Regions from separate parts of the Homo sapiens genome. Here region 2 is linked to region 1. Evidence: promoter capture Hi-C in 16 types of primary human blood cells and fetal thymus (Javierre and others, 2016). All regions are on one chromosome and are shown on one strand. Each heading gives the region's core, a stretch centred on a gene start or on the middle of the fragment in contact. The rest is flanking DNA. Distances are from core to core; before and after follow the strand shown.

The links. Contacts are between HindIII fragments. The CHiCAGO score rates a contact against its expected background, and 5 or more counts as called.
Region 2: a fragment that was not itself captured here is called in contact with the fragment with the promoter of KLF12 in region 1 in 6 of 17 cell types (non-activated CD4 T cells, fetal thymus, activated CD4 T cells and 3 more); the score reaches 8.1 in non-activated CD4 T cells.

The regions. Positions count from the first base shown.
Region 1 is chr13:74,131,049-74,137,151 of GRCh38, forward strand. KLF12 (KLF transcription factor 12) reads right to left here and starts at 3,356. Exons shown (of 8, transcript NM_001400136.1): 1 at 2,924-3,356. RefSeq lists enhancers at 1,834-2,013, 2,044-2,093 and a silencer at 3,103-4,852. The HindIII fragment of the contact is 3,671 bases long and covers 1,065-4,735 here.
Region 2 is chr13:73,828,785-73,834,887 of GRCh38, forward strand. The region is part of intron 4 of KLF12 (KLF transcription factor 12); the gene reads right to left. Among named protein-coding and RNA genes, the nearest start is that of LINC00393, 170 kb to the left of the region's middle. The HindIII fragment of the contact is 1,761 bases long and covers 1,737-3,497 here.

The sequences.
Region 1 (6,103 bases), core at 2,106-4,605:
AGATTAACCAACACTGGCTTGAATTCAAAATGCTCTCAGCATAGGCCTAGAGGCCTAAGCACTTACGTTGTCTCTGCAGAGATAAAACACACCTATATTTAAGGCCAAATTATTTCAGTAAGTTGATAACAGCCTGTTTCATGATATACTGTAACATCTAAAACTCACTGGAGCCTGTTAAAGTGCATACTTTCCCTGAACAGGAGTCAGGGAAAATATCCCTGAGCAACATGTATATTTTCACATGACCAGAACACGATGGATATTACAGGCCAGATGCATGTTCTTCAGAATGAACGTCAAGCATCCCGATTTGTTCTCCCTTTGGCCTGGGGAGAGTGAGTACACTAGTGTTTGCAGACCTTCCCTTTCAGCACACACATAGGCTGCAGCTGTAGTAAACAACCACCAGCCAAGAGTTGCTAAGGTCAAGGTCTCAAATGCTATACCAGGACCATTTACTCCCAAATGATAGTCATTGCTGTAAAAAGAACTTCTGGGGAGTGGGAGGTGGAGAATATTAAGGACTCATTAGCACAACAATTTTTTTCAATAAACAGTAATAAAAAGCATTCCACAATAAAGTTCAGCTGACTGCATTGCTAAGTAGTAGATAAATAACTGAAGGTTTTCAAAAATAAACAGAAACCCTCAAGAATGTTTTGTTTAACCTGACATAGCCATGTTGGTTACATGGTCTTAGTTCAAAATTATGAAAATTTTATGTGAAAACATTTCAAATTTCAAATTTTCCCAGTACATTTCATAATAGTTATTAAATTGGCAGAATAATAAACTGCTTTCCTAATTTTTATATGCTCAAATTGCTCTTTCCCCAACTCAAAGGAGCTTAATATATTCAATCTAGTATCAAGACCCGTCTGCAACAATAAAGATATAACTTACCCAACTGAAACGTCTGTCCTTCAACATCCTATTTCCACTATGCTTCTACAGTTTGAAATTTTCTAACCTAAAAGTATACTCCTTTATCGGAACCAATTTCTATGTGGTCTTAAAAAATGCACACAACATGTGAATGAGGTCTGAGAATAGCACAAGCAAGCTTTTTTCCTTGAGGGAGGGGGGGTCCACTGTTTTAAATAAATGTCAGTTCTAAAAGCGTTTCTTAGAAGACGGTATACACCCACTCCTCAAAGTGACCACTCCTATTCCCATCACAAGCTGCTTCTTGCTAAAAGCCACCAAATTTATTTCAAAGCATTTACTTATCTAAACAACTCTATCGTCCAGTAAGAAAAGGGCATGGAGGCGTCTAGGTGGTTTTGCAGAATGACGTGTATTTGATTGGCAGATGTCTACCGAAGTCACTAGATGCACACGCACTAAATGTAAATAGAGTTGCTCGTCTCTCCGATGTTACAGGGAAACAGAGAATCTTAACGCTGGTGTAAAATAAAATATCAGAGTGCTCGCCGAGAATTCCATTAGCCAGTGGAATTATCTAAAACAATCCATACAGAACGACACTTTAGCCATCTATACAGTTAAATTAGAGTGCTGACAATACTAACTACGCAAACTGTTTATCCAGATTACACATTCCGTTGTATTAATACTCTTTAACTCAACACAGTCAGCTTTTATCAGCTGAAATAAGACTATTACTATTAAAGTATGCAAAACTCGAAGCGCAGGGTGAAGGGGGTTGGGAAGCTGCAGGGCATATAACAAAGGAATTGGTACTTTTTCCAAGCATTTGCCTCAAATGCACTGCGAAACAAAACTGTTGAGTGCACCCCACCCTTTTCCCCAAAGATAAAAGTTTTCAAAGTTCTTGCAGACAGCTCGCTACCCAACAAAAGCAGGACTGATTCTCCCCGTAGGGGAGCATCTAACGTGAACACCAACTAATGTCGCGGAGGTCAAGTCTGAACCCTCAGAGTGAGCTTCTGAGGCAAGAAGTGGCTCCCAGGCCGGCTCTGCGGGTTCCCGGCCCGGGTGGACGTACAAAGTTGCCCCTTGTCAACTCCGGCCAGGTCCCCCGTAATTGAAAATAACAGCCACCGGCCAGCCCCTGGCTACTTGCATGGACCAGGCACTGTAGCAAGTGACAGTTACACATCATTACGACCAGAGACAATAATGAATGTAGCACCAGGAGCACTATTCATGCCAGCAGTGTCATCTCCGCCTTAACCCCTTCCCCTCCACTCTCTCCAGCGCGCACACACAGCCCACACGGTCCCGGTGCGGAGCTATTCATCCACCCCGCTCGAGGCCGGGGGGCCAACTACTTCCACGAGCCCCCCCTCCCCCCCAAGTTCAGCCCTGGGGTTTTATTTCACATCCTTGGCAACTGTCAGGCAAACACTGCAACCAACAATTCCACTAGGGGTAGAAAAACACTTGCTTAATTCACGTTACTTGATAACTTCTTCTGGAAAAAAAAAATTAGGGGAGGTGGGGAAGAAACCTCCTTCTTTCTTCTCCACGAATCCGACCGACGCTACTTGCTTTGCAACAGCATCGCCCTTCCCCGGCCCCCTCCCGCTTCCCAGCACTTTCCCCCTTTAAGAACACAGACCAACCAAAATGATTTAACTTGAGCAGATGACAGAAGGAAAATAAAACACGTTAAGAGAATACGGTCTGATTTGGGATGGCAAAAAAAAAAAAAAAAGAGGAGGGGGTTGTTTATTTTGATAAGAAACGGAATCGGCACAGACCTGAACAGAAGCTGCAGAGCAGGAGAAATTGTTTTCTTTCCCTCACACAGAGTCCCCCTCTCTCTCTCCCTTTCTCTCTCTCACACGCGCGCGCGCACACACACACACACACTCGCACACACACGGCGTCACCCGCGCACACGCACACGCAGAGCCTCTCAGCGGCTCTCTGCAGTTCTCAGGAAATGAATGGGGGGCAACCCGGGGAACTGTTGTACTTGCAAATGACTTACCCGGATCACATGATGCGCTAAATGTAGGGTGGGCCGGTGGGTGGAGGCTGCCGAGTTGCGAGCCCCGGTCTAGTGTGGGGAGCCTCGCCAGGCCCGCATCGAATTACCCCGGGGCCCAGCCGAGGGGGTTGCAGGACGCCGCTTCTCCTCCCTCGCAGCCCGCAGCTCAGGAAACCGGAGAGGCGCTTGGGGTGGGGTGGGGTGGGGTGCTGTGAGGGGGGGGGCCGAAAACAAGAAACCCCCAAACAAAAGAGCTCCGGGTCCTCCTCCCCAGAAACAAAGCCCCGCCGCTGCCGGCGAGCCCCGGGGTGGGGCCGAGGGCGGGGGCGGCGGCGGGGAGGGGCTCGCTCAGCAGGCGCTAAGTCGCTTTATTGCCATAAAATGGGGCCCCCGAGCCGCTCCGCCCGAGGATTAGGAGGCGGGCTCTGAGTGTGATGGTTGAAATCCCCTGTGGGAAACTAACCCCTCCCCGCTCGCAGAGGTAGAAGGCAACACCCACTGCCCGGCCCTCGCCTCCCCGCCCGGACCGCCGGGCTGGGTCCGCGGCGCCTCCACCCCGCCCCACCCCGCCCCACCCCTGCCCCCGCCCTCCGGCCCCGGGCCTCGGCAGCGCTTCCCTTTCACCTGCACCACTTTGCTGCGGCACCCCAAATAACCCACACATGGCCCTGGGAGCTCGGGGAGTCGTCGGCCGAGGGGGCCCGCGGGGGCTTGCGGCGGGAGGGACCCCTGGAGAGCAACTCGCTGGGCAAGGACTCGCGCCGAGCCGCGAGAAAGTCTCCTCTTTTGTGTCAGAGCGCGCCAGACAGGCTTAGGAGAATTCGGGGACCCAAAAAGCGTGCAGCCCGCTTGGGCCCCCACCCCTCGCCGCACCCGCCCGGGTGGGGGCGCGCAGTGGAGGGAGGGGGCTGTCGCCCGGGTCGTCCCCGCGGCTCGCCCGCCAGCGAACTTGGAAAGGTGTGGGCGGAGCCGGCCGGGACTGTGGGGCAGCTCGCGGGGACCGCCCCTGGGCGCCGGGCATCGCCCGCGCCGGGCAACAATGGGGTCAGGCAGGGGCAGCCCCGCGGGCGGTGCCCCCCGCGCGCCGGTGGGGCGGGCGGAGGGCCGGGCGCGGCAGGCAGGGGAGTCATTGTTTGGGTTCCGGAGCGACGCACGTTGCGGGCGAAGCGGGGGCGCCCCTTTTCCCTGCGCTTCACCTTGGCGGGATGAATGGGGGCGAGGCGGAGATGCGCGCCTGGCCTCGCCACCCCAGCGAAGGGGCCCCTGCCTGCGCCAGTTCTGTGGGAAAGCACGCAAACTTGGAGGACTGGGGCAGAGGAAGCGGGATCTGCAGACCCCCGCGGGGCCCGGGGGCGGCGGGGAAGGGAGTCCAGCTCCACTGCCCCACGCCCAGAGCGGAGCCCCAAGAAGCGGACGGCCCGGAGCCGAGTCCTTGACGCTCTCCCCGGCAGCCCCTCCCTCCCCGCCTCCGCGCCCCGGGGAGCGGATCCGCGGGATTGTGGGGCGGGAGAGGGAGGAGGCGGCCGGGCGGCCCTGCAGTTCCCGCGGCGGCTCGGAGGGCGCGGGGTCAGCGCCGAGCCGGAGGGTCGGCGGGGGCGGGGAGCAGACGGGGCGGAAGCGGCCGGGCGGGCGGGGCGCGCGGCGGACGGAGGCGGGAGGCTGTGGGCCCGCCTCCTCACCATCCTAGGTGAGCGCGGCGCTCCGGGCACGACAGTATTCCCCTGCCCCGCGCCCCCGGCCCGGCCCGCCCCGCGTGGGAAATCGCCAGGGCTGTGGGAAGGCCGGGAAGGGGAAGTTTGTGTGCAGAGAGAAAGCTTTGCTGTACTGTGGCGTGGAGTGGGGTGGGAAGAGAAACAAGGGAGAGGCCGAGAAACAGGAAATGAGAACGAAGGCACGAATGTGAGCCAGGGCCAGCTGGGCTCCCCATCGGTGTGGCGGTTTCCAGCCACTTCAGGCGCGGTGTGCGTTCCTAATGACAACAAAGGCGGCGTCTGCCTGGTGCGTTCTCTGCCTCTTGCCACTCCTAGGTTCTGGGGAAAATGGGATGGGTGGTCCAACCTAGAGGAGGGGTCCCACAGCCTAAGATGCGTCTTAGGAAGGCAGCAGGATTCAGAGGAGGGGTCTGTCCTGGTCTTGAGGTTTCGAAGAGGAAGAAATGTCTGAAATTTGTGGAGCACTGCTCGAGTGAAGTAGCCTCAGCGGCGGGAGCGGGAAGGCGCGGGCGCAGCGAGGGCGTCGGGAACCCAGTGGGACTCGGGGGTGAGGGGTTGGTGGTTGCTGCGGTGCGGTCTCTGTTCCGGGGAATGCAGCCGCAACTCCCACTCCCTGATCCGATCCTGGGCCTAGGGTAAACAGCCCCTTACACTCCACTACACCCGGATGGAAACGACGTGAAAACACAAGTTTGAAAAGCAGCAGAATATCAACAACTGCGCAGGATTTCAACGAGAAACTTGCCTCTACTAGAATCACTGTGAAGTTTCCCTCTAGGTGGGGCAGGGAGTGAAGGAAGGGAGTTTCACTGTAAGGGTGGAAGGATGCTGTAAGAAATTATGTCATCGTGGCAGTTCTTGTACTAACAGCTCTTTCTCGAGTGAGCTGAGTGGCGGATAGACCATAAATATATTCTATAGCGAGTGCTTCTGCACGTGGAAAAGCAAACTGCACTGCCTTCCTATGGCATAAGCCACGGGCTTGTTAGGAGAGTGATGAAAGATAGAAAACAAACTACAAGAATCCATTCCAGAGGGATAAGGAAACTAGGGGTAGGTCAAGGTTAGTATCTAGAGTCTGGATACCCTGTGTGGTTAAAAAAAAAAAAAAGTACATCAAGCATTGGGGGGAAAAGATGCAGATTTTAAAAATTGTTGACAGATATGGAGTAGAAATCTTAAGGCAACTTCCTAGCTATGAAAAGGAAAAGGAGAAAAGAGAAAAACAGGTTTAGAAGAGAGAATCACTTCATTGTGTGGACTTGGGGTGCGTGTAAAAGAGCAAAAACATTTGAAATAATACAAAGCATGGATGATAACGGAGATCACTAGAGGAGTGTGTGTGTGTACACACGCATGCGTTTCCAAACTAGTTCATGTAATTCTATCTCCATATAGAATTTAGATTTAAAGAAAAGTAAGGTGTGGACGGAAGGGAAGAAGATAGGGAAAAGTACACTACCTTGGC
Region 2 (6,103 bases), core at 1,367-3,866, 300 kb before region 1:
CTTAAGCTTCATTTCCGCTTCTTTTAAGTACTTTTCATTTGAACAATACCAACTTATCTACTTGTCGAATCTATCTACCAGGATACAGTATGCCCTTTTGTATTTCCAAGAGTGCATTTTTTAAAAACTGCCCTTCCTTTCCTCCATTGTTACACAGAGAATGTAACTAATACTTTCTTCTGAGAAACAGCCTTCTCCTGAAGTGATAGCCACACCTCACCGCCACCCAACACCACCACCGAGTATACTGCCCCTCTTCCTTTGCAATCCACCTCTGTGAGCCTGGGTTCACTGGATTACAGAGCTTGTCTCACTGTGGCTTTTTTGTCTGCTTTATCCATTTGACTGTGAGTGTATTGTGGGTACTGTACGTTGTGCATGTGGTTAAATCATGAATGTGTATTAATCACATGAATAAGTGAATAGAAAGAAATACACTGCACAATTCCCGGGTAAAGCAAAAGGCTGAAAAATTGGAGATTAAAATTTAAAAAAGAAATCTTAATTTTTGAATCTGGCAGGCCAAATTTTATTTAGTTTTGACAGATGAGTCAGAGAGCAACAAACAAAATAAATCAGTACTGTAATCAACATATCTGTTTAAATAATAAGGATATTTTTCTCAGATGTTACAAGATAGAGGATAAAATTCAAGAGTTTTATAACAAGTCAACTAGTTTCATTTGGTTTATAAAGTTCTAGGTGGTATCATTTTTTAATAAAAATATATACATGTCCACATATATCTGTCTCTGTATATGTGCATTTACATTTATACATAGATGCATAAATAAGGTCTAGTACCAAGTTCTTCTCTGAGCATATTCTAATATGCCCGGGTATCAGATGGACACTGCATTCTGAAACTTACAAATATGCAAGGCCTCTGCAAATTCTGACTGCCTGAACAATAACAACTGACTGAATAGTAATAATATGGCTGAGCTCCCCAGTATCTTTTCTGGAATAAGGTATGGAATGAATAAATAATGCTAAAAAAGTCTGTGGTGGCTTACTCTTGCTATTAAGGATGATTGCATTCTCAACGTTCTTCATAATTATAAATATAGAACACAATACTGAAAAATAGTTATAAACCATTCAGTGGCTTATTTAGACTTGTAAATGGACAAAACTGTAATCCTCTGTTTATATCAGATCACACAAAATTATATAGTTAAAACTAGTGTAAATTATGATTGAAAGGAGGTTTAAGTATGAAGGACTTATCATGGTGACTATTAAAGTAATCACAATTGGCCAAGACAGGCAAGAAATGTGCTTGTTAATAGTTGCATTAGTTGCAAGGTGGATAATGAGATAATAAAACACATAATTGGAGGTTATACTATCTTGATTACTGTAGATTATACCAATGGGCACAATAATGCCACTAAGCAGTGCATCACCAGTGAGCACTCATTTGTTAGATGATAAATGGGTAATGATCTACTATAACCATAACTTCCAGAACGTGACAGAAAATACTTCCTATGACATATCATGATACCAACACATTTTGGACAGCAGGCAAGATCTTTCACTCTTTGATAAACTTAATAAATAATAGAGAACTACAAAAACAGAAAAGATACTATATGGCTCTGAAAAGACACTGAAACAAAAACTGGAAAATGCCAGATTTTACTATGAAGCTATTCTCCATAACCAAACACACACTTTATTGAATTCATTTTCCAATTTTGAAGAAGGCATTTCTGAACATCTGCTATATAAGCTTGGATAATTCTAAAACTGTAATGTTATAATGATTATTAGCTATTGGCTAGTGCTCAGAATTTTATTGAACTCATTAATCTAAGAAAAATAAATATAATTATAACAGTAATAATAAATGTTGGCCGTGTCTTTATTTTTGTAGTTTCCCCTTGTGTCTTCCAGAAAATTACTACTACCACAACGAGGCAAGATAGAACAGGCGTGTCTGTGTTGTATATGTCTTTCTAACCAATTCCCTGCTCAAAAGAGCTCTAGGCAGGGGCCAGATATGTCTAAAAATGACATGGATGTCGATCTCTGAAACGCAGTGAACCACACTTTGACTAAATTTCCCTGCACCTAGAAATGTTAACCTACAGCTTAAGGCTGTTGTTTTTCAGGCTGCAGGATGCTAAAGAAATGAAAATACATGATACAGTACTATAATATCAATATTTAGCAACATGGAATTACCTCACGCAATTCATACACACACACACACACACACACACACACACACACGCATACTTATTTTACATACAGAATAGATTTCATATATAATAAATTTTAATCCTTGTCAAAAAACTGAATGATTTAAAAACATAATGCCACCTAATTTGAGGAATTATGGAATTGGATATTTAAAACTGACACATTCTCTAGATAATTAAGGCATACTTTTTAAAGCATCAAGCCTAAGTACAGCAAAATGGCTATGGAGTATTTAGAAATTCTGACTTAATTCAAGGCTCTACCACTCTTAAGCTGTGCCCTTATAAGTGGTACAGAAAGTGATATGAGTCTTAGTTTTCTCATTGCAAAACACTGACAATAATATCTACATGTTGGTTATTGTCAGGCTTAAAGATAACATATGTAAAGCAGAAAGAACATATAAGCACTCTATAAAGGTTATTTAATATTATTTAAATGATTTTTAATAAATATATTTACAAGATTTATTACATACTTTGCTACCTTTTTCAAATGGACTGATGATAATTTAACCTTTCTTTCATTACTAATGGTCATTATTTCAAAAGCAATTATTACGCTGTAATAAAGTATTCTCTCCAAGGACTAAAGCGCCGTGTTAGCCTGTTTGCTCCCATCCAGAAAGACCTTGCTGCAATTATTCAAGTTCTTGTTTTAATAATAATTTTGACGTTTTCTTTGCTGGCTGCCACTTTTTTACCCTCAGTGCCCCTACAGATAAAGGGAGTTTCCTAATTTGGGAAGGGAATTGGCAGATGAGAATCTCAGGAGGTATTCAGCATCTATAAACTGGTAAAGCAAAATCAGTAGATCTATTTTCTTTCAGTAACAAAATCTACAGAAAGAGAAGTGCTACAAAATTTTGTGACTATTGGGCATCCATAAAAATCTACTGAGAAGACATTTTGGGGAACCCAAGTTATAAAAATAACGATTGAGAAATATTCCTATCACTTATTTTTCTTTGCATTTTTATTTGCTATTCTCTACTTACGTGGTTAGAAAATTATATTCACAAAGAACATAACAAATATATCCAAGCCAAGAGTTAAAATGCTTTGAAAGACGGAGGATCTTGAGTCCTTTCCTATAAGTAACATAGAGTACATGTAATGTAGACAACATATTTTGTATCATATGCAGTGTCTGTGTGGGAGGTGACCTCATGGGCTACTTTCCAGTACAAGCACAGTATTCCTCATTCTTTGTGTGCCCTCCATTCTCTACTCTCATTATTTACTCTTTTCCTGGTCTGAAACACTCCTACCTACTTTGAGTACCAAAGCTTTACGCTTCTCCAACTTTCGCCTCAAATGCCACCTACTCTCCCCTTCTTATAATGTAAGACTTCCTCCAGAGTCTAGTTCATGTTCTCTGGAGATTTACAACCTAGGCCTCTAGAAGGTTTCCTCTGTTTAAAAGGTCTCTGTGTTTACAGAGGACTGATTCACAGCATTCACGTCTGACAAAGGCCACACCGGAGATGATTAGGGGGAGCCCTTGGATTTAGCACAGAAGAGACAAAAAAGCAATCAAGAAATTGAAAATGCCTTCTAAACACAGAACACTGGAAACAATTCAGACAAAGCTATTTTAGATTCGTGCTGCGGTTTACTTAATACGTTTTTAAGATCAGAGAACTGAGGAGGAAAACCAAATCTTTGTTTTATGGATGCAACAAATGGGCCCACCATGCTAAATACATCATTTATTCTTTCTCACAGAGAGATATTTAACTCTGTGGTACAAATAAAAGTAGCAAAGTAGCATTTCCCTTCTACTTAAGGTTTGTTAAAGGAAATTTATGCTTTTAAAATGCTCTACAAACACCAAAAACTGATTGTACCATTATCAGCTTTTAAATCAAAACAGCTTGCTATCTGCTAAGGACAGGAAAAATGGTCGATTTATTTCATAAAACTTTATGTACAAAGAGACACTGCCTATGAACTTAATGGAGAGAATATAGAGTCTGGAGAGGTAATTTTTATTACAATTTATAGTGGGATTACTCATACTCCACAGTTTTCAGATTTTATGGCATCATGATGCTGATGCAGTTAACTGCAGTGGGGTAGGAGGCATAATTTGTTTCGCCCTGAGTGGGAAATGAAATTGGCGTTACTATTATATAAGAAACTTAGCAGATTCTATTAATTGCCTGGATCCAATCAAAGCTATTAGTTATCCTAGTTTCACAGGTAAAATATTTTACCTGAGAGTAAAAGAATAAATAAGAACTGACTACAATTTTCATACAGCAATATCTACGTATTAAGACTGTTTGGAAGCCCAAAGAATATTTCTTACCCACAGGAGTTCATCTCCAGAAACTACTAAAACCTAAATCACATCAAGTATCTATAAGGTACCACCAAACATTATTCTCTAATATTAAGTGCTACAAAATAAAACAACTAGGGAAACAGCAGAAACAATGTATTCAAGAACACCAGGCGACTACAGATTGACATACCACAGCAACAGCTTGGGGGATGGTATTCACTCATTCTGCACTTAAGAGTGTTTATTGTGTGCCAGATGTTGGATAAGGCAGTAAGGCAATGAGAAAAGATGATGTGTGTGTGTTTGTGGGGGTGGTGGTGGTATATGAATTGCCTTACAATTTGGTATGTACTGTTTCAGAAAAGAAGGCATTTGAGCCAGATCTTTTGTCAGAGAAAGAAAAGGCTTCCCTTTGCTTTCTACATGGATAAAGGTAGAATGTCACCTGAAGGGCCACGCAACATGGCTGGGACGTGAGATGTATTTGGTGGAATGGCAACAGACTGAGAGGGAGGGGTAGTATGTGAGGTAGATGTGAGGACGTGCGGAGGCTTGCTGGTTACATGTTATGTTTTGGCAGCCTCCTATTTCACCATGGGAAGGTTTATTCTACTGTCAGGGTTCAGACTGCACGTCTACACTGGCCACACAGCATTCCTAAGCATCTCACACAAAACACTGTTCCTGCAGTGTTTCCCACATTAATGCATTCATTTCTTCATCCATCTCTTCAGTAAATATTTATTGAGCATTTACTAGTGTCAAACACGATGTTGGGGAAATATTAGCTAATGAGGCTTAAATGGTACTTTCATGGAGCTTAAATTGTAGTGTAGAATTCGGGGAGAACACCTCCTCCCCCCACCACAACCTCTTTATTTTAGAAATGAGCATTTATAACAATATAAACCACATTATATAAGCACCACAGTTCTCAGCAGAGGAGCTTATTCTTACTATACGTTACCCAAGTCCTGCTATATCTTTCTCTCCCCAAAGAACTGAGAAACCCATATACCTAGCAAAGAATTACCCTTCTTCTAATTCTACCATGCTCCTACTGAACTCCTAAGACCCTAGTATTTGAAAAGGCAGTTTATCTGATGAATTCTCCAAGGGCTATTCCTAGTTCTCTCAGTTTTACTAAGTTTTCCTACATTCTGTTTTCCTGAACTCTTTCTGTCCCAAGACATAACTGTCCATTGCATTTATTTTCATTTTATCTTATTTTATTTTACTTTTATGAGACAGAGTCTCATTCTGTTTCCTACGCCAGGGTGCAGTGGTATGATCTCGGCTCACTGCAACCTTTGCCTTTCAGGTTCAGCCAATTCCTGTGCCTCAGCCTCCCAAGTAGCTGGGATTACAAGGCGTATGCCACCATGCCCGGCTAATTTTTGTATTCTTCGTAGAGACGAGGTTTCGCCATGTTGGCTAGGCTGGTCTCGAACTTCTGACCTCAAGTGATCCACCCGCCACAGCCTCCCAAAGTGCTGAAATTACAGGCGTGAGCCACTGTGCCTGGTCCATTTTAATTTTATTTTCTCTCTCTGACATTCTAGGGCACTGGTATCCTTGCTCAGTGGGTTCACCTCTCAGCAAA